2 separate regions of the Homo sapiens genome follow, and region 2 is linked to region 1. Evidence: promoter capture Hi-C in 16 types of primary human blood cells and fetal thymus (Javierre and others, 2016). All regions are on one chromosome and are shown on one strand. Each heading gives the region's core, a stretch centred on a gene start or on the middle of the fragment in contact. The rest is flanking DNA. Distances are from core to core; before and after follow the strand shown. Region 1 holds the start of AMOT (angiomotin). Region 2 overlaps LHFPL1 (LHFPL tetraspan subfamily member 1).

Region 1 (6,441 bases), core at 3,926-6,425:
ACGTGCTTGCCTCTGCTTTTGTTCATAAATGCATTTAAATCATTTAGTTGTTCACTAGGCAACTAGAGGAAGATGTGCACATTCCATATTCCTGGTTCACTTGGTAAGTGGGGGAGAATGCCATTCAATGCAAAGCACTATGGTTTTATCATCTTTCCTTCAAGAAGAATCTGGCCAGGGATTGGGAATAGACCATAAGCTATACACTCCTTCCTACTTTTCCTGTACGTTGGACAAAAATATTGCACACAAAGGGAAGATTTTTTAATTAAGACATTTATTAGTTGGCAACATGAAACACTGGAGATTTTATATTAAAAACATTTGACTTCTGGTTTCTCTTGAAAAATCAGAAGCTGTGGTCACATTGGCCTGCATTTCCCTGTAGTGGTGATCAGGCTGCCCCTTTCACATGGGTTCTGCCTTCTTGCAACCCCTATCACTGGCATTGTCTCCTGACACTAAGCCTAAGGGTTATTAGCTTTTGTGTGTGTGCATGTGTGTTTGTGTGTGTGTGTGTGTGTGTGGTAAGAGATACGTAACAAAATTTACCATTTTAACAATTTTTAAGTGTACAATTCAGTGGCTTTAAGTACATTCAAAATATTATACAACTATCACCATTATCTAGTTCCAAACCTTTTCATCATCCCAAACAGAAATTGTACTATTAAACACTAACTTCCCACTCCCTCTTCCTCCAGCCCCTGATCACCACTACTCTACTTTCTATCTCTATGAATTTATCCATTCTAGATCCCTCATGTAAGTGGAATCATACAATATTTGTCCTTTTGTATCTGGCTTATTTCATTTTGTGTAATGTTTTCAAGGTAGACATTTGATTTTTTTAATGGATTTTATTTTGTACAGCACAGATATTGATTTTTATTGTGCAATAAAGGTGTATTTTAAGAAAAAAAAATAAAGGCCAAATAGGACAGGTAGTTTGGGATGTGGAATCTTGACTTCTGAGCTTAAAATGATCCTCCTTTTTTCCATATCGTTATATGGAGGTTTTTAATGTGTAGTATCTAGGCAACCCAGTGTCTTTACACAGGTGTTTTACAGCTAGTGGTTAATTCTCCTGGTCTCCCCCAGAGGGCTTTCTATACTTTATAGTCAGGATATGAAGACACAGGGATGCTGTGGGGATTAGTTAAATGTGTGTGGCACAGTGTGCTGTATAAACTAACTCTCTGGAACTAGTTTTCACTCTCTGCTCTTAACTTCCACAGCTTTTACTGTCAATACCATTCATTTGGCACTTAGCACATGCTTGTTAGTTGTCTTTTTATGTTTATATCCTTGAAGGCAGGAGCTAAGTCTCATGCCTCTTTGTTTTTTCAGTCTTGTCTATAATAGCGGCTCAATCGATGTTTGTTGATGTTGGCCTCCCCCTCCCCCTCTCTTTTAAGTAGTGCAGGCAATGCACAGCTTTAAATCCAAACTCGGTTTAAACAAACTGAAAGGTTTTCAGGGTGAAAACAAAGAAGTCTTGCATGGCAGGATAGAAGGCTTGGAAGACCTGGGTTAAACAGAAGTACCAAAAAGCTGTTTGCCACAGGTTAAGAAATGACTCACACACAGCCTGACTCACCATTAAGTTCAGAGTTCTGCTAACTCTACTCCATCAAAATTTGGAGAAGAGTAATGCCCAAGCAGGGTTTGAGGAGCGGATGTTAAACGAATTAAGTGTTTTAGAGGTTTCCATTGCTCCAATTCCATTGCTCCACAGTATAAGTCGCTGTGGGGAAAGGAAAGCATGTTAGAAAAGTGTTTTGAAGGCAACTTCAAGGCTAGGGGCAGGCATACTACAAATGAGCCACCAGGCCTTTGTTACCAGGATTTTTTTAAATAGCATCTTCCGTAGTAGCAAAAGATGGGAAATAGCCCAAATTTGCTTCCATTTTTTTTAGAGATAGAGTCTTGCTATGTTGACCAGGCTGACCTTGAACTCCTGGCCTCAAGGGATTCTCCTCCCTCAACCTCCCTAGTAGTTGGAACTATAGGCGTGTGCCACCACCGTGTCTGTCTCCCAAATCCCCATTTAATAAGGGGATGAGTAAAGGAATTTTGGCACAGCTATGCAATAGAATATTGAGTTATAATAAAATAAATAAGGTAAACATAGTTATCCTGAGATGGAAGAATATTTCAAATACATTGTTGAGTAAACAAATGCAAGGTGTGCCTTGATTAATGATCCCACTTGTAAGGAACAAAAAGGGAATATGCACTCATGCTTGAATATGCAAATAATCTATTTGGAAGATGACATACAGTCATAAAGAGAATGGGACTATGGGAGCAGAGTGGTGGAGAAGAACTTTTCACTGTAGTCTTTCAGTACCTTTTTGTTTGGTGTTTTTTGGTTTTTTTTTGACGGAGTCTCGCTCTGTCACCCAGGCTGGAGCGCAGTGGCCGATCTCAGCTCACTGCAACCTCCGCCTCCCAGGTTCAAGTAATTATCCTGTCTCAGCCTCCCGAGTAGCTGGAGCTCAGTGGCTGATCTCAGCTCACTGCAACCTCCGCCTCCCAGGTTCAAGTAATTATCCTGTCTCAGCCTCCCGAGTACCTGCTACTACAGGCGCATGCCACCACGTGCAGCTAATTTTTGTATTTTTAGTAGAGAAGGGGTTTCACCATATTGATCAGGCTGGTCTTGAACACCTGATCTCAAGTGATCCACCCGCCTCAGCCTCCCAAAGTGCTGGGATTACAGGTGTGAGCCACCGTGCCCAGCCCAGTACCGTTTTATCTGAATTCTTCCATGTGCATGTTTAACTTTTTTCACTTGGACAGCATTGATTTTAACAAATATCCTTTTGCCTCTGTGATTGGTAGTAGTCCTGCAGCATATACCCGCCCCCCCACATCTAGCTCTCCTGTCCACTCCAAATAACAAGGCTGAAATAACCTTTCCTTGCTTCACAAACCAGGTGTCTCCATATTTTGAACATTCAAAAACTCACTTTCTCCATGAAAAATCACCCAAATAACCTCACTTCATACATAAACAGAATCATAACGAGAATCATTTTGTGCACACTCCTGCTTCTGAATCTTTCCACAGCTCCTAGCAGAGCATGCTGCACACTCCATGACATGCAATAGTCCACTACTTTTCCTGCAGAGTTGGATTCTGAGCCCCTGTTTACTGTGTGATAGTGTTTCCTTTAAGCACACTTCCTCTTGCATGCCTTGATCCATGGCCCCCCAGATGGCTCCCATTAGGCAGGCTTGAATTGGATGTCACTCTTTCATTGGCATGAGCCATTATAATGGCCTTGCGCTGTCAAGGCGTTTACATTTAGGCTTGCTTCCTACTTGAAATGTTTTCTAGGAAATATGGATCTGTAGAGAATGGTGGTTTCCATGGTAAATGTTCCTTCATATTTGTTTTCTTAAGTTCACTTCGGAGATACACAGCATGATTTCCTCTTTCAGTACCAGAACCACAATAGCTTTAAGTTGTCATGAAATTGTAGAACTTTAAAAAAGAAATCTCACCCACCCTGCTTAGAAAAGGGGTAATTTATTATTCTAACTGCAGGGAGTCAACTTCATATCCACCCCCAAAATTGTAGGAAAAGAGTTGACTTTTTAAAATAAAGCCACAAAACCTACACGACCTTGGATGTAAATGCTTAAAACAGATGAGCAAAATATTGATCCTCTAACACATCTAAGACTCTCCATTATGTTTCACACACAAGTAGGAACACATACATGTGTGGAGTGCTTTATAGTTTTCACACACATTTTATTTTCATACCAGTGCCTTTAAGTTAATAGGGCATGTCTTACAGCATTTACTTACAGGTAGAAAAATTAAGGCTGAGAAGTTAAGCCACTTAACAGAAGTCATACAATTAGCTAGTAAGTGCCAGGGCCCCAAATGAATTCTTCCTTTGGTTCCAAATTCCATGTTATTTTGCTACCCTGACACTGTTTCTTTGTGCCTTCGTTTTTCTAGATGTAAAATGGTAGATTTTCCGTGTCCCAGGATGCTGTTCTCAACCCTCTCGTTTTTAACCAATGTCAGCTTTTTTCACAGTCAGCAGAACACCACAATGACACTTCATGTACTTTCCCCCCTCCTGATTTAATAAACTAAGGGGGAAGAAAAGTTACCTATTCGCAGAAAGCTGGACAGTGCCATAAACATAAAGGCGTACCAGAGTCGGCCGACACACTGTTGCACTCTTTTATGAGACTGAGAAATAAAGCGTCTCATCTTTCTCTTGCCAGCAGTAGCTGGGGTAGAACATAGAACTACACAATAGCCTCTTGTTTAGTTTTATTAATTTTGAGGGCGGGTGGGACAAAGGGATCAGACTGGCGACTCCAGGGCCCAATCGCAAGCGTATACTAGGCCAGGCTGGGCCAACCGGTAGCTGCAAAAGAATGGTGGGCGGGACTTACGCTTCAGGGACGCGCTCCGCCCAGGCCGGCGCTCCCAGCCCGCCCAGGGGCGGAGCCTCCGCGGAGCGCCGCCCGCGACCCCTCCTCCCTCGCCCCTCAGCTTCTGCGGCCCGCCAACGGGAGGGGGGCAAGCGCCCGGGGCGGGGGAGCGGAGGAAGAAAGGAGGGTGTCTCGCAGAGCTGTGACCTGGGTGGGGGCCTGCTGGTAATAGGAAGCAAGAGGGGAAGGAAAACGAAGGAGCGCTTCTCCTTCCTGCATTATTTTAAGCAGGCTTTGGTGGAAGCTGCTTTTCAGCATTTCTATTATTTGTTTTTCTTCCTCCCGCAGTGGGGCGGGGAGCTGCACTGGCTCTCCCACGCGTCTATGCCGCGCTGTTGCCGCAGATTATTATTGTAGTCTTTTGCAAAACCCTTTCCTTCTTCCCAGCCAGTCCCCGCGCAGACTCTCACGGCTACGGCAACCGAGTCGTGCCCCTCTAGTGGGAAGGCGAGAGCGAGGGTCCCTTGCTTTCGCCCGAGCTCCCGGACCCCGCGGTTCAATTGTTTGAAACTTCCACGCCCCCCGGCCCCGCCTCTCTTCCGCGCTCCCCTCACTCCTCACTTCCAGGGTCCAGGCAGGCTCCCGCCCTTCTTTCCCCGCCCTCTACTCCGCCTTCCTCCCTCGTCCACCCCTCCCGCCGCCCTGCTCCGGGGCGGTCCTAGCCGCTCACCGCAAGAAGAAAAGCCACCCGTTCGTCCCCCTCCCCTACCTCCCATCCTTTGCCCAGGAGCTGCCTTGGCAGTCACGCCCCTTCCTTCCGAGGAGCTTTCTGGCTGCCTAAACTGGTAGACCCCCTGAATTACTCCTCCATCTCCGCTCTCTTTCGCCTCCTCTTCTCTTAGTTCTCTCCGCCTCCCCCTCAACTACCACCACCTCCAGTCAGTCTCGCCTCCGGCTATCCGCTGCTCCACCCTCTGGCCCGGTATCCTGCCTGTCCGCTGCCACCAAGGAGAGCCCGGACGGAGCAGCGAGGAGGGGAGCAGCCGGGAGTTGGGGCTTCCCCCCTGCCCATCCCTGGCCGCTGGCCCGGGACCGAAGCCACTTGAGCGAGCAGAGAGTCGTCACCTTGTCTTCTTTGCCTTCAGGGGTAGGAGACGCGTGGTTACTTTTCGCGGGGAACTGGGGCAGGAATCCATGGTGGCATGAACTTGGTCGTGCCCTCGGCGTGAGTGAATCGATCTAGGCGCGTGTGGGAATGCCCGTGTGTTCTACTTTCTTTGCAGCTCGCCATGAGTTTTTTTGGATGTGCAGCAAGTTAAATCGGTTAGAGTGTGCGCTGCTTTCCCGTCCTACTTCGGTGAGGAGATGCTAGTGGGTACCACTACTAGATGGTACTTTTACTTCTTTACCTCCTGGGGTTCTTGTGGGTCTCTAGGTAATTAATCACATTGAGGAGCTAAAGACCCGAGGGAAGCTGAAATCTACATTTAGCCCAGCATGCATGTCAGTGCTTATCTCAGATAACTAGATAGGTTTCTGCTAAGTGCTTAGGCTTGGGGTGGGGACTCACACTCCCTGAGGCGGGAGCAGGAGGGGTAGGACCGTGAATTCTTGAAGTTTTAAAGTCTGTGTAATCTAAAACAAGGCTACTCTTTGAGATGTGTGGTGGTGGTGGTAGTGCTTGTGGTGGTAGTGATAGTGGTGGTGAGGAGGGAGTTGCCCCTATCTGCTTTAGAAGATCCAAAGATGTTAGTAAATAGTTTTGGGGGATCTTGAGGGTGTCTTGAGGGTCCAAGCCTGGGCCACTGCACATTGGTGCTTCAACAGTAAGATGGGCTTCATGGGTTTGTGAAAATGAAGAGAAAGAAAAGGGGGAGGGAAAATAACAGTCTTTAATAGACTGTGAGCAGTTCCTGGTAGATTGCCACTAATAATAATATAATAATTTGCATAAAGGGACTAAGTAGAATTAAATGAGCAAGGAAAGAGAAAGTTGGTGAGAAACAGCATTTTCAATCTCTAGTGTATGTTTTA
Region 2 (6,414 bases), core at 3,020-5,519, 200 kb after region 1:
TCAACTGTAATCCCAGGAGCAATTCCCTGGCGAGGCTAGAGTTACAGGGATGAAAATATATGTTATATCTGTGTTCTGTGTCATATAACTTTTTCAAATCATTGTCACCTAGCCTCACCCTGGTGAACTGTGAGAAATTATGAGAAAGAGACAAATGTATCTTTCAAGTGAAAGCTGCTAGCACTGCATCAAGCACAGTGTAGGTTTCCAAAAAATGTGGATTCCTCTTGCTTTTCCTCTGAAAGTTAGACTGATGTGGGCTAATGATATGGTCCTATCCAGTGGTTCCCCATGGAAATGTGTATCAGAATCATCTGGGCCTTCTCCCCAGACATACTAATTTTGTAGATCTGGAGTGGAGCCTAGGAATCTGTATTTTACAGCTCTCTCAGACACTTTTGGGAACTTGTTGGACCAGTTGGGAGTGTGTTGAGCTGAGATAAAGAGGATCTGAGAAGTATTAATTATTCTAGGCATGGTGCTAAGTGCTTTGTATGTGTCATCTTTTTGGCCTTCAGAGCTGCTCTGTGAGATAGGTGGTATCACTTCCATTTTACTCACGGAGAAGCTGAAACACAGAAAGGAGAAATGGCTTGCCTCACAGGTTCATTTTGTGAAAGGACGTGATTTCTAGCACAGTTCCCTGTAACTCTCATCCCAGACTCTTCTCCCTGTACCACACTGACTTCCTGAGCACACACAGACCTGGGCTCAGTCTCTATTTTCTCTAAGTGGGGACCTTGGTCAGACACTTTATCTGGCTGTTCGATTCTTTCCTCTATAATAATTCCTGCCTCTGGCTGGGACTTGACGAATGAATAAAACAAATGAAAAATAAATAAATGAGATAATGGATCACAAAATACCTTAAAAATGATAAAGTACTAAACTCATATTGGGTGGTATTATTTGTGGCATTTGTCATTACCCAGGAACCTTGGACCTGGAAAAGTCTCTGTGGTGTATATCCGTTGGCTGATAAAGCATGGATGGAAATAGCTAATGTTCAAAGCTGGCATTGCTGGTATGGGGCTAATTTAATGGCTAGAATGAGGGAACATGCACTTCTGAGTCCTGAGGTAAATCAGCTCACTGGGTCTGGCTTTCTAGCATTCTTGAATGTTCAAGGATTATGTCAAAAATTAATAACAGTCACTCAAAAAGCATATTCTGAACATTCACTGTATTCAAGATGCTGAATAAGGCATTGTAAAAACTACAAAGAATTTAAGGATATAGTCTTCAACAAGCCTGTAGTTAATTTGAGGAGACATGATCCATACACACACACACACACACACACACACAGATGGAATCTAACAAAAGCAGCCATAATGATGTCAATCACAAATGTGTAGTGTCGTCAGAAGGAGTAAATTACTGTTGTTACGCTAAGACACACAATGAGAACTCTAGAATCTATCTTCCTTCTCTTTATGTAAGTTCTCATCTAGGTTACTGAAAATAGCCCCTGACTCTCTCTCTCCCTGTTCCACAAAGGTACTGCACATCAACGCCTTTATCTATCTCCCATCCTGTGGACAAACTGATGTTTCTAAAATGCAAATCTGATGTCATTATCCTTCTTTAGCAGTGGTTCCCCATTGCCTTCAGGATAAAGTCCAGATTCTTTAGCAAGGCCTACAGGGACTCTGGCTATCACTTCCATCACCACCCTGTCTTCTTCTCTTGCCCAGCCACCTCGAAAATACCATGTTCCTCCACCCCTTTGCAACTTTGCATGTGTTACTCCCTTTGCTGGGAATGCCCTTCTTCCCTTCCTTACCTAGCTAACTTCTTATTTTTCCCTGAAAACTCCCCAGCTCCTTTCAACTGGATTTGATATCTCTCACCTATATCCTTGTGGCAGTCCATATCGGAGCGCTTGTCACACTAATAGTCTATTTCCTTGTCCCGTTTCTGCTTCTGGCTCCCTTTCACTCATCTAGTTTGTTGATCTTACCTATGAGAAAACAATATGTTTACAGAGCTTACTATAGTGACTGGCATATAGAAACATTTAACCAATATTAGCTATTACTATTCCAGTAACTGACTTATTTAGCTGAGAAAGTTCAAGTGGAAGCAAGCAGAGGACTACTGAGCAGATGTTAGGGGAGAGGAACCAATTTCCTAGAGGCTAAGTGTCCTCAAGAGCTAGCGCTGAATCGAATACATCCAATATTTGGTCAGATGGGTTTTAACCCGTCTCCTTGAGGAGAGCGCCCAAAGCTCTTCTGAGAATCTGCTCCAGGTGTAGCTGACAGGCTGTATAAAAGGCAACACGGGGTGACCCAGAAGTGTTTTTCAGAGGCAGCTAAAGGTAAATCTGGAGAAAGACCTAGAAGCACAATTTAACTTGGCCTGAGACATGGAAGATGAGCAGAGTAGCTAAAACTCAGGATAGCTATATGAAAAGTGATATAAATAAGCAATACAGGTTGGCAAAACATGAGGAAAGGTCGGAAGCTAATGCTCAATAGTGGCGAGGAAGATTTTAATCGAAGGACTCAATTTGTTCGGCAGAAGTGTGTGAGAGAGAAAAGAAAAATCAGCCAAATCAGGGCATTTCTGTCGTCATGAGGACTTGGCTCTTCTTTGAGTACTCCCATGGACTTTCTAGCAAGTGTCCTGGTCTTCCCTTACCCTTTGGAACATTGGGTTGAACCGTGATGAAGTTGAAAACCCAGAATGTCCTACCCCTCCAGCAGACCTGACTGGACCAAAAAGTCAGTGGCTACTCACAATAACATATTTACCTGAACAACTGAAGTTTTCAGTGGGTTGTTTTTTATTCTTCTTCTCTGGCAAAGGAGCCTGGCAGGCTTCTGGAATCTTCAGTAGGTTCTGGGCCTCCAATCTGGGCTGCTGTTGACACTCACGCCCAGCTTGGAGAGTGAGAAGAGAGATGTTCTCATAGCTTTGGCTGTCTTTTTACTGGGGGCCGGGGTGGGGGTGGTAGGGTGTTTGGCAATTGCTCTTGAATTCGTTGGCTTTGCTTTATCTTTGTGGATTATTCATCTGTGTTTGCTGAACCTAGCAGAGAAAGTTCTCTGTTCATTTAGCTTGGCTGCATTAAAAATGTTTTTATGTTGCTACCTATAAAGACCCTAAAGTCAGCAGTATGTCTCTGAATAGATGGGACCACCAGCTCCTTCCAAACCCCTACTTTTCTTGCTAACATAAAATTCAGGTCTTCATGGCAAAAATGCATTGAGTCAGCAAATAGCAACCACCCCTCCCTTACCCTACCATGTGTACCAAACGGTAGTTTGGGAGATGGGTTGTTACCTGGTTTCATGACTTTAGATGGTGCCACAATGATGAGAAGAACAGCTGGCTTTCCTGAACTGTGTTTATTATTTCCTGAACTTGTTTATTATTTCCTGAACTTGTTTTATTATTTTCAGAAAAAAATAATACCCTCAATAGGAAGAGGTCTGTAAAAGCTTAACCCTCCCCAGCCATCAGTCTCCATGTGCCATGATCTCTATGTCTAGTGTTCTAATCTTCCACCCACCCCATCAACTCTCCTTTAGTATCTCTATTGTTCTAATCTTCCACCCACCCCATTGATTCTCCTTTAGTCCCTTTCTCTTCTTTGATTTCTCTCTATTCCTTCCCCTCACACCCTACTCTATCAAATTCCAAAGGATTCCTAGGTGCTTCTCTGTAGCTGAGGTTTTTGTCCTCAGGGCCACTATAGGCTACCTGGCTTGATATGTGGAAGCCTGTGAAAGCCATCAAGGCCCCCAGGTCACTCCCAGGCAGATTTCTCTGTATATCTGTCCTGCTCCTCTACACTGGGTGGTGAAGTTGAGGATGATATGCAGGTTCCCATTTTAGGTTCTTCTCTATCCTTGGTGTCATTCCTTCCCTTCTTTTGCCTATCTAAGGCCAGGGCAGTGTCTCTTAAACTTCCTGATTATTGGAGTATATTAGACGAAAAAACAAATGCTAATATTGTTCTCTTTGCCCCTTACCTGAAACACCCTCCAGTCTTCTAATTCCAATAATTCCTAGAATTTGGATCTTATCTTTCTGGTGGAATACAATCTACACCCTTGAACTATTCACATTGTCCAAATGGATTTTTCCCTTCTTGCCTGACCCTGAAACTCCAAACCACTTCACAATTCTTACCCCATCTTCATGAGCCTCTCCCCTGCCACACCAATATCCAACACTTCTTACCATAATCCGGGGTCCTAGCATGCTTGTTTTTTCCTTCTACAGTAGCAGCTCTCAGAACATGACTGTTGGCAACACTTGTGCGAAATTAAATCTTCATATATCTGAAGGTTCCATTACATTTCATCTAGCCCTATTCAGTTTTGGAGGTGTTAGTTGTCATTATGGGCTTGCTATATCCCTGCTTCCCTGACTCTTCCTCCAACCTTTCAGGAGCCTGGAATTTCATCAGATGATTCTCTGAAAGAGAAGACTCAACTCACTCAAAAGACAGACTTACCTCATTCTCTTTTTATGCCCTTTCTTTTCAACATTGTTTCCTTCTTCCTCCAAAGAGAACTCCTTTTTTGGATTCACTCTCCAGCATTCTTGGCTTCTAAGCTGGCATTCTGCACATGCTCCCTGAATGGGGGAGCCACTCTATCAGATTCTGACTCACTCCGGTCCATAATTTTGATGCCCACAGCAATGCTAGATCCCACCACAAGCATTGGTTTGGGGCTAACTCCCCATAGCTCATCATGACCCATTGACAGCTAGCCAGACACCACAACCCTGAAGGGCATAGGACTGCGGCTCTAGGGAGGGTGGTCAGTTTAAGTGGCCGCCAGTGACAATTTATCTCTAAACAGTGAGCTGTAAAACATAACATCGTGCTGAATCAAAGGAAACAGAGTCAAATTCCAATCCAATTTGATGTGCAACTTGGAATAAAAGCAACGTGTCTTGATTTAAATGTCAGGCCCACTGCTGAGTGATGATTTAATAACTTGTATGAGAGATTCTGTCACAGCAAATTCAACACTGGAATTCAGTGACTCACAGATAGAGTGTTAGAAATGATACAGAAGAGCACAAAAAGGAATAGGCTTATCTCAGGGCTCATCCAGAAGCTTTGCATAAAGCTCATTTGCAGTTAGAACCTCTTTTCTCCCCCTATCCTGCCACCGATCCTTCTCTTCACAGACACCCATGCATGGATATAGAGAAAATTTCTAGGTGTGATGTCATCTCCCTGCAGTATCTTCTAAGGACACAGACTTTTAAACAATTCTAGCGTGGAAGTAGAGTCAGTGCATTTAATCTGAAGGCAAGGAAGCAGTTAGTTTGGTGTTTCTCAAGGGACTTTAAGGACGCATCTGGTCTTAATGTGACGTCTTTAGCCAGGTACTTAATTATTTTTCCACATTTTAAGGGTTAAAGAGCTGAGACCTGGTGGAGTTAAAACATTTATTCAAATATTTATCCTGTCTCCTTACTCCCAGGGAATCAGTGCTTCCTCCTCAATACCTTGTGAGATCTCTCCCCTTGAGCTTCCCTTGCCTTCCATGGGGTAACATACTAGAATGCTCAAGACTGACCATGCCTCAGTCCCAGTCTGCTTCCCAGGTCAAGAAGGAACCATGCATGGCCGTTCTTAAGGGAGGAAATTCCATTCTGTTGGGCTAATCTTTTAGTCATCAAGATTTATTTTGAATAGAATTTAAAGTATAAATATCTGGTGTTTGTCTACATGAGGATTGCTCAACGTAGACAATATCGACACTTTTTGGCCAGATCATTTTTTGTTGTGGAGAACTCTTTTATGTATTGTTGGATGTGTAGCAGTGTCCGTGACCTCTGGTAACTCTCTCTGTCTATATCCTCCATTTGCCTCCAATCTATTTGACACAGACCTTTCAGGTTAATATTTCCAGGCAATACCTCTAACTTAGTGGTTCTCAATAGAAAGCAACCTCCCCTCATACCGGGGGACATCTGGCAATGTCTGGTGACATTTTTGGTTTTCACAACTTGGTGGGGAGGAAGAATAAGTTGCTATAGACATATAGTGGGTAGAAGCCAGGGTGTTACAGTGTACAGGAAAACCGCCCCCTGCCCCTGCCCCCACACCAAGTAAATGTCCAACCCAAAATGTCAATAGCGCCAAGGTCGAGAAACCTTGCTCTAGCGTATCGTTCCCTGCTCAGAAACTTTCCATTGTTTCACACTGCTTGTAGGAAAGATGACAGATTTCATGGCCTCTCCTGGTGTAGATTCAGTTTATTATTTTGTCAACTATAGCTCCTTTTTGGAAACAGCTCTGAATGTTATGCTTTCTCTGAAACATGTCATGTGCTTTCTCACTCACATAACTTTGCTCACGCCAACCACTCCCTCTGCCTAGAATGCCCACTTCCTACTACTAAAGCCAAGATGAAATGTAGCATCTACAAAGGCTTA

The links. Contacts are between HindIII fragments. The CHiCAGO score rates a contact against its expected background, and 5 or more counts as called.
Region 2: a contact is called between a fragment that was not itself captured here and the fragment with the promoter of AMOT in region 1, in 1 of 17 cell types (activated CD4 T cells). The highest score is 6.1, in activated CD4 T cells.

What each region holds. Positions count from the first base shown.
Region 1 is chrX:112,839,565-112,846,005 of GRCh38, reverse strand. AMOT (angiomotin) reads left to right here and starts at 5,175. Exons shown (of 14, transcript NM_001113490.2): 1 at 5,175-5,554. It overlaps LOC107985651 (a long non-coding RNA gene), which reads right to left and starts at 4,280. Exons shown (of 3, transcript XR_001755993.2): 1 at 4,138-4,280; 2 at 1,601-1,747. RefSeq lists a silencer at 4,330-4,669. The HindIII fragment of the contact is 13,608 bases long and covers 1-6,441 here.
Region 2 is chrX:112,635,708-112,642,121 of GRCh38, reverse strand. The region is part of intron 3 of LHFPL1 (LHFPL tetraspan subfamily member 1); the gene reads left to right. Among named protein-coding and RNA genes, the nearest start is that of LHFPL1, 41 kb to the left of the region's middle. RefSeq lists an enhancer at 525-574. The HindIII fragment of the contact is 1,635 bases long and covers 3,452-5,086 here.